Linked DNA regions of Homo sapiens: all the other regions are linked to region 2. Evidence: promoter capture Hi-C in human tissues and cell types (Jung and others, 2019). All regions are on one chromosome and are shown on one strand. Each heading gives the region's core, a stretch centred on a gene start or on the middle of the fragment in contact. The rest is flanking DNA. Distances are from core to core; before and after follow the strand shown.

Region 1 (3,715 bases), core at 204-2,703, 1.2 Mb before region 2:
GCCGAGATCATGCCACTGCACTCCAGCCTGGAGACAGAGCGAGACTCTGTCTCAAAAAAAAAAAAAAAAAAAAAAAAGAAAGATATAAAAGTAACATTCAGAGTGACTAAAAATGAATAAGCCTTTCTGAAACAGTAAACATAGTTTAGAATTTTTGCTGTATAAAAAAATACCTAAAACAGATTTATCACTGAAACTCTTAACTTAATACTATTTCATTAGCAGAGTTTCTAATCTTAGATAAGGAAGGAGAACAACAACCTAAGAGGACATACTTACAGAGATGAGAATGAATGTGCCCCAAACACAGGCAAAAAGGTAGAACGCACTAAGCTGACCAGATTCATTAAACTTGCTGTGTTTTGTTTTGGAGAAGTGCATTCGCCTGTTAATTTTCTAAAAATAAAAACAGCCATTAGTAATTAAGAATAAATTATAAATTATATTTAATATATGACTAGCAGATTATGGAGAGCTAGTACTTTATAAAGTATAGATTTCTAAGACTGCATACTTACATCCAACATATACTCTTGAATTACGGCATGAATAATTATCGCCACTAGCATGTAGAAGAAAACAGTAGCCAAATCTTTGATGCCATAGTAATAAAGGGACACTGATTCAGTAGCTTGTTCTTCTGAAGACCAAAAAGGACACAAATACACAAAAATATACACAAGGTTATAAAAACAGCATTAAGTACAACATAGTTATGGAAACAAAGAAGAATAACCTAATAAAAAAGTTCTATATTAACATCATAAATAACGTGGTCTTGGACATCTTGAGTCTTAGAGGGGCAATGAAAATCAAAACTATCTAGAAATCTAAAGCTTTAGAAATTACTTACAAAGACTTGACACATGTTAGTCACAGCCACCAAAGACCAAAAAACAGGGAAGAGGAGGCCACACTCAATAAACTGATATTATCCCAGGGGTATAAATTAGGTTGATAAAGTTATACTTAGCCTACTGACCTATTTTTTTCAAAGGGCTTTTGAAACTTTCTACTTCTACTTTCTAACTACACACTAAATTATGATTCTGATGAAAAAGCTGATTTGACCTGTATTTGATTTAGTTTTGATCTATAAGCAGCAGAGATAAAGGCAACTACTAAAGTTGTTTTTAATCCTTGCAATTGCTATAATTTTTCAAAACAAATCTTTATCAAATACTTGTGAATTGCTGACACTTATTCTCAAACTTTATGTTTATGGGGAACATATACATAAAAGAGCTTTATTCTTCTCTGGCATATTCAAATTTCAAAACAGTATTGTAGTTTTGAGTAACCTGATAACTAAATCACTAAATTAAATATTTACAAAACTGTACATAACTGAACAAAAACCCAACTCAGGGGCTAGATGCAGTGGCTCACCCCTGTAATCCCAACACTTAGGGAGGCAAGGATTGCTTGAGGCCCAAATTCAAGACTGACCTAGGTAGTATAGTGAGACTCCATCTCTATAGTAAATTGAAAAATTAGCTGGGCGTGGTGGTGTGCCCTTGTAGTCCCACCTACTTGGGAGGCTGACCTGGGAGGATCATTTGAGCCCAGAAGCTGGAGGCTGCAGTGAGCTACGATCACGCCACAGCACTCCTGCCTAGGTAACACATTTGGCAAGACCCTGTCATCTCTTAAAAACACACATATAAATAACAGCAACAACAACAAAAAACCCCAACTAAATGTGGTATACTATATTATCTTACATTCTAAATAAAAAACTGTGCAGGTTTACTGCCTCAACCAAAAAATACCCCATCCCTCACCCATGCTAGTTAATTATATCACTGTATTAAATTACAATCAACTTCCAAGAAACACCTAATTTTTACATAGATTAAGAAATAAGATTTTTGAAATAAAACCTAATAGTTTGGATGCTATTACCAGATAATTCCTAGAGCTTACTAACACATTTTCTGGAATCAAAATAATTGTTAAAAGTAGAGCACAGGAAAAAGTGAAAATAATCTTAGAAGGATTGATTGCTATTACAGGTCCAAAATGTAACTTACAGAAAAACTAAATCTGCCATTGTGCTTTTAGAAGTCTTGAATGAACAATGACATTTAAACAATTTTAAAAAGATCTTTTCTTATAATTTTCTTAGGAAAAAATCAGAAAGCAGAGAAAGCAAAACAAAATTATTTTATGGAATTTCAAGTCCATTCACAAAAATATATAGTAAACAGAAAACATATACAGGGTAAAGTCAATCAAAAACATCAGATCTTGTATTATAAAATCATCACAATAACATTCAGTCACATCATGGATGAGATCTCTGACGATTAATTAACGCAGGACCTAGCATTCATGAAAATTTCCAAGTTTGTTCAACTGAACTTCTATTTACGTAGAAAATTCTTAGCGTAAATTACCTACCTGTTGCTGGGAGGGTGACATTGTACTGAAGAGTAACAAAAATGATAGAAGCTTTTGCCGTTATCTACAAAGAAGGAAAAACAAAGATCAAGTCAATTTGTGACCCTCTCCCAAATAACAGATCGGGGCAAAAACATTATAAAATCTGTCCCTAAATCGAAGCACCAAGGGCCTCCTCGTTCCTGTGGAATCCTGACAGACACAATGGAAATTACTGATTGCCAAGGAGCTAATGTAATTCACTAGAGTACTCTTCTGCGGTTTAGGTAAAATTGTGTAATTCATCCTTAATTTTAAGATTTCAAAAGACATTTTCTGCAGTTCCAGAAAACAGTTATTTGACAAATGATGATTCTCTACTCTAGCCCTATACAATGAATAAAAAGTTCCTATTAAGACAAATTTCAAGTGTAAATTAATAAAATAAAGAGAAGCACAGTTAGCATGAGAAAAGCAGATCAAATATAGGGTCTGTGGTGTGGGTGTGTTAGTATCCCACACACCCAGCAGAGTTAAGTGGTCAATAACTGTTTAACTGACCTGACTACTGGTAAAAGTAAACTGGTCAGAGCAGAAAAATGGAATGCTTACCCAATCTTTACAGGCACCAGGCAAAGTGCTAGACAAAAAAGGACGAGATGAAGATGGATAAAATAATCCCTAATGACAAGGAGCTCCGTGGTGTGAAAAGTACAGGTAAATAAACTGTTATAATACTGTAGAATAAGTGCCAATAGCTTGCACTGTGGGTACTTGGGATAAACAATGAGCTTTGTTGGTTTTTTTTCTGGGGTGGAATGAAATGAAGGAGCTGTGTTTTGCTGGAAAATAGGTGTTCCCTAGGTTCACAAAGGGGGATGAAGAGGACAGTACAGATAGAAGAAACAGAGCGTGGCAAGATCAAGTAGCAGTGAACACAAGGCCAGGCACAGGATGCACATCAGGAAGCGTTAGAAAAGACTAGAAACATTATTGAGTGCTAGAAAGGACTCTGTTTTTTGAGCTAAGTAGTTTAGATTTCACTTTCGCACAAGTGGAGAATGTTGAGGACGGGAAAGTTCATTTATGCCTTTTAGAAGGATTGCTCTCTGTGACCTGCTAAGTGGTATCCCAGGCCCCTTCAGATCCATTCTCCATATTGCAACTAGAATGATTTTCTCATCATGTTACCACATCCCCCTCCCTACCTGCTAAAAATCCTTCACTAGATTCCCATCTTTCTAGGAGAATGTGACCATAGGACTCTATGGTCTGACTCCTCTCTCTGCCTCTGCAGCACCTTCTACCACAGGGTCTCTGCACATGCTGTTCT
Region 2 (3,447 bases), core at 181-2,680:
TGGTGAAACTCATCTGACTTTGAGGTTCTGTCGTTTAGTTCCCTTCCCCAACACACACACACACACACGCACACACACACACACACACACACACACACACAGTCATCCACTCCAAGCTCCAAGTAGGAACTGGGCTTGGACAGGATTTTTCCCAAGCCGGGAGAGCTGGCAGATCAGAGAGGGACTTTCCAGATAAATCCCATCTGGGGAAACGTTACTATCTTCCACAAGCAATTTTTCTAAAAATGCAAATGCTCTTTTATAGAGCTCGGCCTTCCCTCCTTTAAGAAAGGGCTTGCCGATTCAAACCTGCCCGACTCAGCTGGATTAAGTTGGGCAAGGGAGATTTGCCGTCAGTCTGCAACCTGGTGGCAGATGGAGATGGAACCAAGATTTACCCTGGAAGTAGGATATTAGTCAATGGCTGTCACTGGGGTACAATGTTCAGAACGATGCAAACAGACACGGAGGGTTGATTCTTCTTCAGGGAAATGGCTGGCCACTCCCTTGATTTGGGAGAAACTAAACTGGCCTTCTCGTTCCCAGTCCCAGAACCTCCACCCCTTTCGAATTCTTCCCAACGGGCTGACCCTGCCCGGCGCCCAGGAGCGCCCTGGGTATCTCCTGGCTGCTCTCCCGAATCCTTGCGCGCCGCGCCCCTACCAGGTTCACTGGGTGCACGTAGCCGTTCTCATAGCGGTCCTCCTGCAACAGCTGCCGCAGGTGAGCGATGTAACTGGAAGCCAGCCGGAGCGTGTCCAGCTTGGAGAGCTTAGTGTCGGGGGGCACCCAGGGCAGGCTGGTCTTGAGCCTGGAGAAGGCTTTGCTCAGCACGCGCATCCGGGCACGCTCACGGGCGTTGGCCGCGTTCCGCTGCGACTGCTTGCACTCTGCGGCTGAGCCCTTGGCCGGGAGGGGCTTCTTGCCACCACCGCCCGCGCTACCACCTGCGCCGCCGCCCCCAGCCACACGGGGCCGCTTCCTCTTGCAGCCTTCCGCGCTGCCGGCTGTGCCCAGAGCGCAGCGCTCCTCCTCGCCGTCGGGGTCCTCCTCCTCTGCCGACGAGTTGTCACTGGGCGAGGCGTAGCTGCGCTCTACGCCGCGGAGGGGCGGCCTCTTGGAGGCGGGGACCGGGTACTCCCGCTGCAGCCCCCGAAGCTCCATCTCCTCCGGATCACTCACCGAGCCCGTGGACATCCCGTTGTCCCCCTTGCCCACACGCGTCCTCTTTCCTCCCCCCTGGCCAGTCTCGCTGTCTCCGCCTTCCGCTCCCTGGCGGAGGCGGAGGCCAGAGAGCGCTCCAAGGAAGACTAAAAACCCAGGCCGGGAAGCGCGGGGTGAGAAAGCGAGGTGGGTGGCGAGAGCGTGAGCGCCCCTCTGCTGACCCCGGGGAGCGTGGACTACGAGTTGGCGCCCAAGTCCAGAATCCGCGCGCACCGCGGTAAGCTGCGCCTTTTGAAAAGGCTATCTGTACTCCTTGGAACAAACCACCCCGGGCAAAGAAGAGGGGGTTGTAAAGGGGGCCAAGAGGTGGGGCAGGGGCGTGGAAGGGGTGGGGACCGCTTTTCTGCATGCCGAAGAGCGGTTGGTGGAGGCGGGGGAAGGGGACGTCTCTGCAGAGCCGAGATTTGGGCTCTGAAGCCCGACGGCCCTTCAACATGTCTGCGCAGGATAAGTGAGCTTTCGGGGAGTGAAGGGGCACATCTTGTTCCTACCGACGGTGCTTCTACCCCCAGGTAATCTTAGCAGTGGCAAAGATTACCAGACACTTAGAAACGACGGGATTCCGACCTCTGCTTGCCTGCCAGTCTTTCCAGTAGAACTCAGTTTTCAAGTTAACCATTCATGATGTATGATTGTCTACCCAAGCCTTGCTGGACAAGAGAAAAAGCAGAACAGGCAAACAACATCCAACAATGCACAAGTTACCTCTCATTTTCCTCCTCCTTTTCTTATAATATACCTTCATGGTTTACAAAAATGGTTACAATGGTTCGTTGCCTTTTCAAATAACATCTGTAACTTAATGATATTATCTCCAATTTGCAGAACTTGAAGCTGAGCCGCCTAGATAGACGTTAAGTAAAAGACCCAAACTTATTAGGCTAAGTAGAAAAAAAGATTCAAAATCCGCGTTTTGAAATTCTGGCCCGTCGGTATTCTAGTCAGCTCCGTGCCTCCGGGTCACACATCACTGGATGTTGTAGCTGGTATTTTCCACTATCTTGAGAGTTCCATGCGTGATGTGATTTTGTTTTAATACCACAATGCGTGTGTTGGAGGATCCGGCCCTAAAGCTTTGCATTATAATGTAGGGAATCCTTGCTATTGTATTTAATAGATTGTGTATTGAAGAGCGAGCTCCTGGAAGCAGAATGCTAAGTTAGCACAATCGTCCATTCAAAGTAAAAACGACAAAGGAGCACCCTGAATGATCATGTTCCATTCCAAACAAGACTAAAACATCCTGCTCTTCCACACAAGAAAACACAACAATTTTGCAGTCTCATTATTTCCTAACTCGAAGGTCATCGCAGTTCCTGGTCAGGGGATAAGTACGTCTGTGGATACGGGCCCCAGTGGTCAGAGACTGAGTGCCCGCTGTGTGCCCGTCACTGTACTCGCGGCTTGTGAGCAGCTCACTGAGTAATAAAACCCGTATGAGTTTGGCATATGGTTACCCCATTTTACAATGATGAAACTGAGTCGTCACACAGGCTTAGGTGTTCACTTGTTCTTTTCCTGAAAGTCCACAGGCTCCCAAGCTGAGCAAGGTGCAAGGGGACCTATGTGGAGTCAGTCCAGGACAGAGCTGGCAGAGATAGCTGGGCCAGCCTGGCTCCCGCCAGTTCGTACAGCAGAACAAATGCGTCCAGCTCGATGGCTGAAGTGCTGCAACAGGTGGCTGGCAGAGGCTGACTTCATCACTCAGGCATCATTCCACCTTAGTCTCCCAGGCCACGCTACCCTTAGCAGGGGCGTTTTGGGGCCGGGGGAATGTTTCACATAACCCCTCCGGCTCACCCACATTTGCAAAGGTTTTCTCCCTGTACAAGTTGTCTTTTGGTTGGGGGCAGGGGGTGGGCTGGTTCTGGGACAATGTGAATAAAAAGATCATTTGCCCTCAGCTCTCTCTAGGGTAGGGAAATGCAGGGAATATTTGACAGAGTGTAGAAATCTTTCCTGGAGCGTTTGAACTTGAACTTGACTCTAGGATCGCCTTGCCAGGTGAAGGAGAGGAGAGCGACAAAGAGGGGCAAAGAGATGGACCGAGGAGAGCCAGGCTAGCTCTCTGCAACGACTATTGATGACTTGAAGCTATCAGTATAAATATATAGTCTCACACATTAGGGGCAGGCGAATAGGTTTTTAAAATCTGAATTGTTTATACAGGTGCAGAACAAAGTCTTTCTTTAGAAAAGATTAATGGTGAGGAGAGCGCTAGAT
Region 3 (3,747 bases), core at 952-3,451, 1.5 Mb before region 2:
GAGTAAATATGACAATGAAAGAAGAGGATAAATTTTAAAACGGAGAAAGAAGATTATCACCCAGCAAAACCACAGGTGCAAGAGAGCCAGGCCCTTAACAATCACCAGCCCAACAAACACCTTCATTTTAATGACAGAAGGAAGAGACAGTGAGGGAAAATAATGAAATAAGCAAGAGATGAACATAATTATTAAATCTGCACCTCATGCAACTCAGGGAAAAGAGCTTTAAACAAAAGCTAACAAAGCCATGAGCATGTGCTTCTCTTACCAGCATTAAACACTGTTCATTCACTGCCTGGCCTCAAAAGCCACAAGACCAATTTCGGGCACCCAAGCCTGAATCTAGGCCAATTCCAAAGATCCCACGAGAGCCCTCCTATGACCACAAGGCTCTTGTGACCACATTCTAGGGGGAAAAATAGCATCCCAAAAGTGAAGTATGTGGATTTGAGAAAAGGACACAGACTGATGAAAGTATGTTCTCAACTGTTAAAAGAGGGGGGAAATACACAGAGCACAGGTTCACAAAGCTTCTCTAGCAGGCTCTGTACAGTATCTAATACAAATTATAAATCTAGGAAATAGTAATATAAAGGTTATTAAATGTTTCCATGTGAACTGGCTTTAATATGCCTTAGTCACGACTTGGTAAGACCAAAATATTTAATACTCAGGGGCTTTCGGGGGGAGAAGAGTTCATATATATATATATTTAATATGTATATATTAATGTTATTTTTTAAATCTAAACCTCAAATTTACAAATTATATTTTTTGATATAAAAGGTTTTCTTTACTACTTTGGCTTTTTCCCTAAGAATCTGATTGAGAATTATATATCCATTGCCGGCATAAGTTATTTATCTACAACATTCAGAAAACAAGCAAGAAAACCATTGTATAAAATTAAGCAGCCATTGGCTTTAAAAAAAAAAAAAAAAGGTTACTTGGAAGCTTGGAGTGCTTATTGAATGCTTACTGTTCTAGAATTCTGATTTTAGGCAAAGATGGGATCTCAGAACTCCAGTAGCCACAATTCACACACTTTGGCAGCATATCATCCAAACTCTGACCTCGTAGCTCTGAAATAAAACACGCCTTTTACCCCTAGATGTGCTAAAGGTTCATAAAAGCAGAAGATTCATACAGAATAATAGTGGCCAATGAGGATACTCTCATCATCCACAGCAACCTGTTCCTGACACTGCACAGCAGAAATCTTCTACAGTTCTCCTAAAGGACAATAATAGCAACCCGATCATGTCTGACTTTACATACAACCTTCAAAACACCCTACCAGGCCTTGGGGGAGGAAAAATTATTGTTTTAGAAATAAACACAAGTTACTAGTAGCCCAGATTTTCCTTTCAACCATAGCTATCTCCTTTAATACAAACTCCTAAGACTGTTCTCATTTCCTTCTATAATGCTGACCTTGTTTAAGTTTGCATTTCATGAAAAGACACTGAATACTGTTTTGAAATTAAATAAATTCAAAATAACAGCATTTGTGAGATTAACATGAAAACTTTTGTGCCAATTTCTGAAGCTCTGTGGGAATAATAGTATTAAGTACTACTATTTTTTTCCTTTTTTCCTCAGGAGGTGGACTGCATTTCCAGATACAGTGAAAAGACTACCAACAGAGTAATAGTTACACCAATAACATATATAAATAGGACTGCTGAGAGTATAACATAGATTTTGGAGTTACTGCACAGAGGGACCAATAATCACAGTACTCCAGCTTTTAGTAAAAACCAGTTCACAGGTCCAAACAGTTTCAATTTAAATGTTTGATCATCAGTTTCCGTGTATTAAGTAGAACTATTCAAAGTGTTTGAAAATTATCTTAGTAAAATAATTACATATCCAAGTGCTAAGGATTTTTAAAGCTATTTCTTCAGAAAGAATCAAAGTGAAAACCACCACAAAGACCCTACTAAAATAAAAATAACAGATAACACTTCTCCAAGCCATACCATGATTTCAAGATACTATTAATCAAAATCAACATTTCTATGACTCAGTATTCTCAACTATAAATGACAACCTTTTACAAATTATTTCTAGCCCTAAAATTCTATGACTTAATTCTGTGTCTTTTTTAGGGTTTCAATATGTGTAAAATACTGTTACATAGAAGTAGACACTGTAGGAATGAATTCAACATAGACTCAGAAGTATAAGATGCAGGCCTCTGCTCTCAGTAAATTTCCAAATGAAGACTAGGAAATGAGAGAAATAACTTAAGAGTTTAGAAATCTTAGAAGACAATGCAAAGTATAACAGCTTTTATACTCAAAGCTGCAACAATTTCAAAACCTGACATACAAGTGTGCTGGCTTGGTCTGGAAAGTTAAATGTGGCTTATTCTTCTATGCTGTAAAGCATATATAGGACGTGGACAGAAAGAAAGACAAAGAGAGTGTCACAAGTGCTGGCTAGAGACATCTGGCTGAAGTGCAAGGCCGCATAGGGAAATACTTGGAGATGGGGCTGTAAAATACACTAGGCTGGGACTTTAACCAAGAGGCAATTTATAAGACATGGAAAAGTTGAGGGAGGAATGAAAGCAGAGTTTTAGAAAACTTAATCTCAAAGGGGAGTAATGGATGGATTATAGATAAAAGACCAAAAAAGCAAAATGGTGCACAATTAAATGAGGCAGAGAAATACAGCCATTATTTAGTTTTTCAAGTCAAAATCTGCTACTGAGACCAAAGTAACTCGTTATCTATATCAATGAAATTCACCAACTCTTCACTTTATTTTTCTTATAAAACAGCTTAAGTATAGTTTAGACTGTTTATTAAAACCTTTCACTGTATTTCTTAAGTGTCACATAACAAACTGTATTTATATAAAAATTCACTTTAATTTAGAAAATAAGGACAGTATTATTGGTCCTAAGCCTTTCAAAAGGAAATTAATGCTGCTGCACAGTTTCATTAATTCTGTTGGGCCGTAAGGGTGCCCTTTGGGTACTGACAGAAATCATTTATTGGTCAATGTAACCCCTCCCAAAACTGCACAACTTATTCTGTCACTCCCTGTGGGAAAGTCTGGCTGCTTATGTACTCTGTAAATCTATTCTACAAAAACAAAAGTAGCATCTCTGATATAATGGCTACTAAAATATTAAGAGTTATTAAATGTTTTCCAAAAATAACAGTAAAGTCTCAAAAAAAAGGAAAAAAAAGGGATAATTCCATTTCTGTCCCATTAACTACTTCATTATACATTTACCCATTTCTTTAGAGTTAACAGTATGCCTAAAATAATAAACTTGAGCAACATTTTAAATGCTATGTGATTTTCTATCCATTATCAAAATGAATAGACTTCACTTGAAACTCAGTTCATTTTACACACTGACGTAGTCTAAAAAATTCCACACAAATTCAATTTTGGTAACTCAAATAGTTTAAACATACGAAACATTTGGAAGATGTCCATTTAAGGAAGGCTGTAGTACAATTGGTTCTTTTATAAAATTGAGAGACACCAATGTAAAGTGAATAAATATCCCTGATTAATCTGGCTTTCTAAGTTTGGATTTTAGATTTTCTTAAAGTGTATATTCTTTTTAGATGGTGCTATAAAAACTCACTTATAATGAAATTACTCCCATCATAATAGAACAGAGAAATGTAATATATTGCAACTCAGTTTTCTGATTAGTGAGGCATGGACCCAATTATCCACAATGAGTTTCACTGTGTCTTGCTCCCTGGCAGCATG

The links. Contacts are between HindIII fragments. The study calls those that stand out against the background at their distance.
Region 1: a contact is called between a fragment that was not itself captured here and the fragment with the promoter of MSC in region 2, in 1 of the 25 tissues and cell types used here (lymphoblastoid cells).
Region 3: a contact is called between a fragment that was not itself captured here and the fragment with the promoter of MSC in region 2, in 1 of the 25 tissues and cell types used here (lymphoblastoid cells).

Annotation. Positions count from the first base shown.
Region 1 is chr8:70,597,616-70,601,330 of GRCh38, forward strand. It overlaps TRAM1 (translocation associated membrane protein 1), which reads right to left. Exons shown (of 11, transcript NM_014294.6): 2 at 2,404-2,467; 3 at 519-640; 4 at 280-396. Among named protein-coding and RNA genes, the nearest start is that of TRAM1, 8.9 kb to the right of the region's middle. The HindIII fragment of the contact is 4,816 bases long and covers 1-3,715 here.
Region 2 is chr8:71,842,982-71,846,428 of GRCh38, forward strand. MSC (musculin) reads right to left here and starts at 1,431. Exons shown (of 2, transcript NM_005098.4): 1 at 664-1,431. The coding sequence starts at 1,197. It overlaps MSC-AS1 (MSC antisense RNA 1), which reads left to right and starts at 142. Exons shown (of 5, transcript NR_033652.1): 1 at 142-723; 2 at 1,248-1,441. RefSeq lists silencers at 780-1,049, 2,889-2,938. The HindIII fragment of the contact is 6,952 bases long and covers 1-3,447 here.
Region 3 is chr8:70,365,815-70,369,561 of GRCh38, forward strand. The region is part of intron 1 of NCOA2 (nuclear receptor coactivator 2); the gene reads right to left. Among named protein-coding and RNA genes, the nearest start is that of NCOA2, 36 kb to the right of the region's middle. The HindIII fragment of the contact is 7,690 bases long and covers 1-3,747 here.